Regions from separate parts of the Homo sapiens genome. Here regions 2 and 3 are each linked to region 1. Evidence: promoter capture Hi-C in 16 types of primary human blood cells and fetal thymus (Javierre and others, 2016). All regions are on one chromosome and are shown on one strand. Each heading gives the region's core, a stretch centred on a gene start or on the middle of the fragment in contact. The rest is flanking DNA. Distances are from core to core; before and after follow the strand shown.

Region 1 (2,545 bases), core at 34-2,533:
GAAAGGAAGACAGAAAGACAATCAGTGCTTGCACAACTCAAGACTGGGCAAGGGGTATTTCAAAAATACATGTGTGTATATATATATATATATATATATATATATATATATATATGTATACATATTTTTTTTTTTTGAGATTGTGTCTTGCTCTGTCGCACAGGCTGTAGTACAGTGGCATGATTTCGGCTCACTGCAACATCTGCCTCCTGGGTTCAAGCAATTCTCCTGCCTAAGCCTCCCGAGTAGCTGGGATCACAGGCGCCTGCTACCATCCCTGGCTAATTTTGGTATTTTTAGTAGAGACGGGGTTTTGCCATATTGGCCAGGCTGGTCTCGAACTCCTGACTTCAAGTGATCCGCCCACCTCGGCCTCCCAAAGTGCTAGGATTACAGGCGTGAGCCTCAAAGATATTTTTCAAAGGAAATGCTGAGTGTTTTGCCATGTTAGCTACCCCTTCCTATCGCCAGTGGGAAATCAATTTACAATATTAATTTCTCCCTATGCACAGACATAAGAGGACTGCTGAAGGTGAGTTGGGAGAAATGTCGAATCTGCTCTAAGGAGGATGGGGAAGGTGTGTGATGAAGGTTGCCGAGGGGTCACCATCAGGTCAATGTGTACTCACCCTGAAAAGCATAGCTTTCGTGGTAAATCTCATAGGCTTTTCTGTGGGCATCACTGAGGGTCTGGAGTTGTGACGCTCTTGATTCCTGGTGGGGAAGCTCCTTGATCACTTCCTCCAAGTCACTGAAGGTGAACCAGATCCCAACTAGGTCCCCGAAGGAGTGGAAGGCGAATGTGGCATAGTCGGCGAAGAGGTCAGCAAAGGCTTCGGTTCTCCGGAGGGTGCTGGCAGGGAGGGTCTGGTGGTGCAGGATGACCATGGGCTGAAGCCGTGCAGTCTTGAGGGCCTTGAGGAGTCGCCGGTAGCACTGCACTGTTTTCTCGTCTGGATTCTGGGTGCTTCCTGCTGGGAGGAGCTGTGCCCATGACAGAAATACCTTATAATGGGTGATCTGACTGGCATGGAGACTGCTGAAGTATTCTGGCAGGAAAGTGGGCAGTGGCTGGTGACAAACATACATGTCTTTGTCCCCTGCTACAAAGTTAGAACTCTGGTCTCCCAGGAGACCACTCAGGTTGTGCAGCAAGTCATTGGTTAGAGGACCAGCGGTGGAAATGAAATTTCTATCAGACTCCCAGTCTGACCCCCAGCATGAAAAACTTAGCAGGGCAATAAAGACTACATGCCAAGACAGCTCCATTTTCTAGGAACTGTTAGGAGGTATGTGGAACCCTTACTTTATAACTGCAACTGAGGTTGTAAAATACTAAGTGATAATTAAGACTTAATATTTAACTGGGTTATCTATGATCACAAAATCAGTACACGGTTCACTAATGCAATATTTAAAAATGTAAAGATCAGGGCCGGGCGTGGTGGCTCACACCTGTAATTCCAGCACTTTGGGAGGCCGAGGTGGGCGGATCACGAGGTCAGGAGATCGAGACCGTCCTAGCTAACATGGTGAAACCCCATCTCTACTAAAAATACAAAAAATTAGCCAGGCATCGTGGCATGCGCCTGTAGTCCCGGCTACTCAGGAGGCTGAGGCAGGAGAATCACTTGAACCCAGGAGGCGGAGGTTGCAGGAGCCAAGATCATGCCACTGCACTCCAGCCTGGGCAACAGAATGAGACTCCATCTTAAAAAAAAAAAAAAAAAAAAAAGGTAAAGACCAACACAAAAACCTCAGACTTCCTATACAAGTTAAGCAGAGGAACCCGGAAAATGTCTGAAGAAAACGATTACCAATTTTTTTTGTTTTTTTTGTTTTTTGGTGACCGGGTCTCACTCTGTTGCCCAGGTGGGAGTGCAGTGGTGCGATCACAGCTTCCTGCAGCCTTGACTTCCTGGGCTCAAGTGATCCTCCCATCTCAGCATCCTGGGTAGGTGGGACCATAGGTGTGCGCCACCACGACTGGCTAATTTTTTGTATTTTTAGTAGAGATGGAGTTTTGCCATGTCACCCAGGCTGGTCTTGAACTCCTGGGCTCAAGCAATCCTCTTGCCTCAGCCTCCTAAAGTGTTGGGATTACAGGTGTGAGCCAGCGCACCCAGCCACACATTATTTTAAAATTTGTTTACATAATACAAAAATAAGTATTTTGCCCCAAATTTTCTCTTTAAAAATATGCTGAACATATTTTGTAAGAGATTCAAACAATATGGAAACATCTATGAAAAACTTGCAAATTCCTTCACCCTCCCCCCTCCTCTTCCTATAATAAGTATCTTCAGCAATATGTATCTTTCCAGTTTTCTTTCTCTGCATATCTTAATGGTTATACAGGAGTCAGAATGCCTGGGTTTAAATCTCACCTGACAAAAATTACTTAACTTTGTGCCTCTATTTTGTCACCTGTAGAATGTGGATAATTCATCATAGGCTGTGGGGATTAAATGGGTCTTTCTTGTAGCATGTATACAACAGTACAGCTCAGGGATCATTATTATTACGTAAATACAAATGGAAACGT
Region 2 (2,545 bases), core at 30-2,529, 540 kb after region 1:
ATGATTAAAAAGCATGGCAGAAAATTGTCAATAGCTTTGGAGATTTCATCCATACATTAAAAGACCTGTTTCGTGTTCTATTGGATCAATATGGCTCCAACGCTAGCACATTCACCTCTTGTTTAATTTGCCATTTAAAAATTTTGGTTAGTCCAATGACTCTAAACAATTCCAATGCAAAGAATAAATAAGCAGAACAGCAAATCAAACTGGATTTGTGGGCACAATTATATAGTAAGAACTCCAGAGCTGGAAGTAGAACTCTAATCACAGATTAGAATACAAATGTTTGCTTGTACATCGTACGCAGGCTCTACTATCTGCTGAATATAAATGGCTCCCTGATCGAACCTCTAGCCTGCATCGGGTGGGAAGGTAAGAGCTGGGTTTTGCTTTGCAAAATCTTAAGTCTCACCAAGAGAATCAGGGAGGCAGCCAATTGTAGTGGCAAATACGCAAAGCTTTGGAGTCAGGAAGTTATTTATTCTCTGGCTCTCGTTTTTATTATGTATTTAGTTTTTTGAGACAGGGTCTCGCTTTGTCACCCAGGCTAGAGTGAGTGGTGCGATCACAGCTCACTGCAGCCTTGACTTTCCGGGCTCCAGTAATCCTCCCACCTCAGCCTCCCAAGTTGCTGGGACAAAGATGCACACCACCACGCCTGGCTAATTTTCATATTTTTTTGGTAAAAATGAGGTTTTGCCATGTTTCCCAGGCTGGTCTCGAACTCCTGGCCTCAAGTGATCCACCTGCCTCGGCCCCCCAAAGTGCTGGGATTACAGGCGTGAGCCACTGTGCCCAGCCTGGATCTCATTTTTTAAAACCTGTAAATCTGGGACAATGCAACCTACTGCATGGAGTGGTTTTAGGGGTCAAGTAAAAATGGCCGGCAAGGCACAGAGTAGATGCTTGATATATAGCAGCTTTTCTTTCTTTCTTTCTTTTTTGAGATGGAGTTTCGTTCTTGTTGCCCAGATTGGAGTGCAATGGCATGATCTTGGCTCACCACAACCTCTGCTTCTCAGGTTCAAGCGATTCTCCTGCCTCAGCCTCCTGAATAGCTGGGATTACAGGCATGCGCCACCATGCCTAGCTAATTTTTGCATTTTTAGTAGAGACAGGGTTTCTCCATGTTGGTCAGGCTGGTCTCAAACTCCCGACATCAAGTAATCCCCTCCCACCTTGGCCTCCCAAAGTGCTGGGATTACAGGTTTGAGCTATCATGTCTGGCCCCCTATAGCAGCTATTCTTAAGTCTCCAGCTTCAGAGGGCTGGGGCCAGGAGAGGTTAAGAGGTGAACATCCATATTTACAGCCTTCATGTTTGGGGCCTTCTTCTCCCTCCTAAGGTTTTTCTGTGTTAAAATGCAAGTACATGTGCCCCTGGTGGAGAAACTCCCCGGGCTATAAAATTTTTACTACAGAATTGACAGAAATGGTCCCTGTAGATTTGGCTGAAATAAGATGTGCTTGAATTGTAAAGGGATGCCCCATATTTGGGGTAGGTGCTGTGCTAGTCACAGTCAATGTGCTTGTCAGGTGCATCCCCCTAGAAAACCAGCTGAGTTTGGTGTGAAGATAATTGGGAGGAGGAGAGTTTGGGTTCAGGGAGGAAAGGCCTGGTGGGGGCCTGCAGTGGATGGGAGAGCAAGAAAGAAGGGGCGTGGAGAAAAGTAGGGAGGCAGGTGTGGGGGTGCTAGAGGTTGTTACTTCCTGAAGTTGGGTCCCTCTGGGTGGAATGCCTTTCAGTGACCAGGGGCCACCTGTCCCACCATGTGACTCCATTGCTCAAGGAGCGTCCAGTGGAATAAGTGAGAATCTGAAGCAGAGAAAAATCATCCAGCAGCCATGTGATGAGTATGTAGGGGAGAGTTGAGGCTATGTGGTCAGCTTCGGTCCCGAGTTAGAATCAGATCTGTGACTTCAAGCAGAGTGACCCTGAGCTGGTTATCCAACTAATTCGTGACTTAGGCCTTCTGATAAACTGGGCTTCATAATATACTCATCTCACAGGGCTGGTGTGAGGATCGGCAGGGGTCATGTGAGGAAGCACTTAGCAGAGTCTAGCAAGCACTTAAATAGCAACTAGCGTCATGACAAAGCTTTATGCTCTGGATGCCCTTGACGGGGCTTTTAGCTGTGTGACCTTCAAGAAGTCACCTGCTCTTTCTGAGACTCAGTTGCTTCAGCCCTTTAAAAACAGAAACAAACACAGCCGACCACAGGGTGTGTATGGATCTGAATGAGTACAGACAAAGTCACTCATTGCAGGACTGAGTAGGAGGCAGGGTGCTGGGATTGGTGGGTTTAGGGAGGTCTGGGAGGGCCCTGAAGCTCAAGAGAAGTTTGTTTGGAAAGAAAAGCATCTTCCGTTTTGACTGAGAGGAAATGGGGAGGGGATGTGGTGCAGCGTCAAAGGCAGGGTCTGCTGACGAAACTTGGTGGTGGTGTTTCTCAAACAGAAATAGGACATTCTCACTCTCCGTGACACTCAAACTCCAAAGTTTCGGCCTGGGTGGTGGTTGCACCTGTCACTGACGACCTCA
Region 3 (2,545 bases), core at 31-2,530, 530 kb after region 1:
TTTTGGGGCACTCCTGGAGTGAGGGTGAGAAATGAGGGAGTTTTGGAATTTGATGTCTCACCTTCCCTTCTTCCTTCTCTCTCTCCATCCATTCCTTCCCTCAACAACTTTTTAAATGAGCACCTACTACATGTCAGAGAGTCTATGCTATTGGTGTGTGAGAGAGGCATGAGCCAGGGTTCCCGTGCTCCCAGAGCCTGTGGTGGATCCAGTGGAGGATGTGACATGTGTTCTCGGGGAGAGTATGCAGAGGATGAGTCTCACCCATTGATTTCAGGCAGTGTGGGTGGTTTATGAGTGATGTCTTCACAAGAGCCCTTGCAGTGGCTCACACTGCTCTGCTTTCCTGCAATTTAGTTGGCTCCACAAATACCTGTTCGCATTGCCAAATTCAGCTGGAACATCACTTCCTGACACTGGACATAGATTGCAGCACTCCTAATGCCCTGTTTGTCTCTGCCTCCTGCTTCCAGGTGGAGAGGTCCTTGAAGCCTGAGACCATGGTTTACTCAGCTGGTATCCACTGCTCAGGACAAAGAAGATGCTCAGCGATGGTGCTTGAGTGAATGAATGAATGAACCTCAGGACTTGTATTTTGTTCTCAAGCACTGCTTGTTGAGGTCATTTTCTTCCCTGCCTGCAGGCTCCTGAGTTACCACACAGCCACCTAATTTAGTCAGGGGCACTATGGAGAGGGCCTGGAAACCTGGTTACACAAGTGTTTGGCCTATTAGTTCTCTATGGCTGCTGTACCAAGTTATCACAAACTTAGTGGCTTAAAGCAACACAAATGTATTATCTTACAATGCTGGAGGTCAGATGGAGGACACAGGGTTTGAGCTAGCAGGGATGCATTCTTTCTTCAGGCTCTAGGAGAGAACCTATTTCCATGCCTTTTCTAGTTTCTTAGGGCCATCCACATTCCTTGCTCCCAGCCATTTCTTCCTGTTGCTTCTACCAGCAACAGCGGCTTGAGTCCTTCTTATACCATCATCTCTCCAGGTTTCTCTCTTCTGCATCCCTCTTCCACTGAAAAAGACCCTGTGATTCCACTGGGACTACTCCAAATCCAGGATAATCTCCTATGTCAAGGTCATCTAATTAGCAAACTCAACTCCATCTACAACTTTAATTCTTCTTTGCCATGTAAACTGACATGTTCACAGATTCTGGGGAGTAGGTCATGGACATCTTTAGAGGAGTCCATTATTCTGCTTACCACTGCCTGTGATACACTTCACATCCCAGATAGGGAATCTCTTGGTTACCTTCCCATAATTCTCTTCCATTCCTGTGAATAACTGAGAGTTAACTGCTGTAAGACTTGCCATTCAAGCCAAAGACCAGTGTTAGATCCAGAAAGAACCAGGTGGGTGCTGTGGGTGAACACCTTCCTCTACAAATGGGGGTGAAAGTAAATGAGTCATGTAAGGTGCTGGCTTCTCTTTGGTTCTGAATCATGACCACAAAGATGTACTTGACCACAGATGAACCAATCTTGGGTAGAGATGACTGTTAATAACCTTGTGCCAGGAGCTCTTTTGCATATATCATCTCAATTACCACTATCACTGCAGGGTAGGTATTATTGTCCCCGTGGTTCAGGTAAGGAAACTGAAGTTGAGCCAAATTAAGGTCATGCAATAAGTGGCAGAGCTGAGTTTAGAGCTGGGGCTTAACTGATTTCACTCAATTTATGGTCAGCTCCAGGAATCCATTTCTCTTAAAAGTCCTCCTGAGGCCGGGTGCGGTGGCTCATGCCTGTAATCTCAGCACTTTGGGAGGCTGAGGCGTGCGGATCACCTGAGGTCAGGAGTTTAAGATCAGCCCGGCCAACATGGTGAAACCCTGTCTCTACTAAAAATACAAATATTAGCCTGGTATGGTGGCGCATGCCTGTAATCCCAGCTACTTGAGAGACTGAGGCAGGAGAATCGCTTGAACCCGGGAGGTGGAGGTTGCAGTGAGCTGAGATTGTGCCACTGCACTCTAGGCTGTGCGACAGAGTGAGACTCTATCTTAGGGGAGAGGCTGTGCACTTGAATTACCTGGTATGCTTTTAGATAATACCAATGACCTGCTGCAAATCAATTGCAACTGAATCTCTGGGGGTGGGGCTTGGTTGTCTGCATTTTTTTGTTAGTTTCCCTAATTGTAAACTGCGGTTGAGGTTAAGAGGCGCTGCCTTAGGAAGTGCTGTGTGTTCCCTTCAGAACCAGCTTTGTAAGAGCACTTTGTGCTCTTAACCTCAGAGTACCCAGAACTGCCCCCATCATGTCCTGTGACTAGGGAAGAAAAGTCCAGCAAGCTGGTTTCTCTCACTCTTTTGGGACTGCACTTCTTGGCAGACTTCTTGATGAAGTTATATGGGAGCCTCTCCGACTGCCCTTCACCCCTTTCTTGACTTAGCCGCTATCGGTGGGTGCCTTTGCCTGGGTGTCTCGGTCTCCCTAAGTGAACAGGGAAGCAGAGAAACAGCTCCACAGAGTGCAGGAATATATATGTTGCACTTCAGAGGATAAAAGTACTTCATTTTCACTCTCTT

Evidence for each region. Contacts are between HindIII fragments. The CHiCAGO score rates a contact against its expected background, and 5 or more counts as called.
Region 2: a fragment that was not itself captured here is called in contact with the fragment with the promoter of LCT in region 1 in 10 of 17 cell types (activated CD4 T cells, erythroblasts, M1 macrophages and 7 more); the score reaches 8.5 in activated CD4 T cells.
Region 3: a fragment that was not itself captured here is called in contact with the fragment with the promoter of LCT in region 1 in 1 of 17 cell types (neutrophils); the score reaches 5.9 in neutrophils.

The regions. Positions count from the first base shown.
Region 1 is chr2:135,835,901-135,838,445 of GRCh38, forward strand. LCT (lactase) reads right to left here and starts at 1,284. Exons shown (of 17, transcript NM_002299.4): 1 at 630-1,284. The coding sequence starts at 1,269. The HindIII fragment of the contact is 13,164 bases long and covers 1-2,545 here.
Region 2 is chr2:136,380,041-136,382,585 of GRCh38, forward strand. No RefSeq gene overlaps it. Among named protein-coding and RNA genes, the nearest start is that of CXCR4, 260 kb to the left of the region's middle. The HindIII fragment of the contact is 1,640 bases long and covers 460-2,099 here.
Region 3 is chr2:136,361,420-136,363,964 of GRCh38, forward strand. No RefSeq gene overlaps it. Among named protein-coding and RNA genes, the nearest start is that of CXCR4, 240 kb to the left of the region's middle. The HindIII fragment of the contact is 3,737 bases long and covers 1-2,545 here.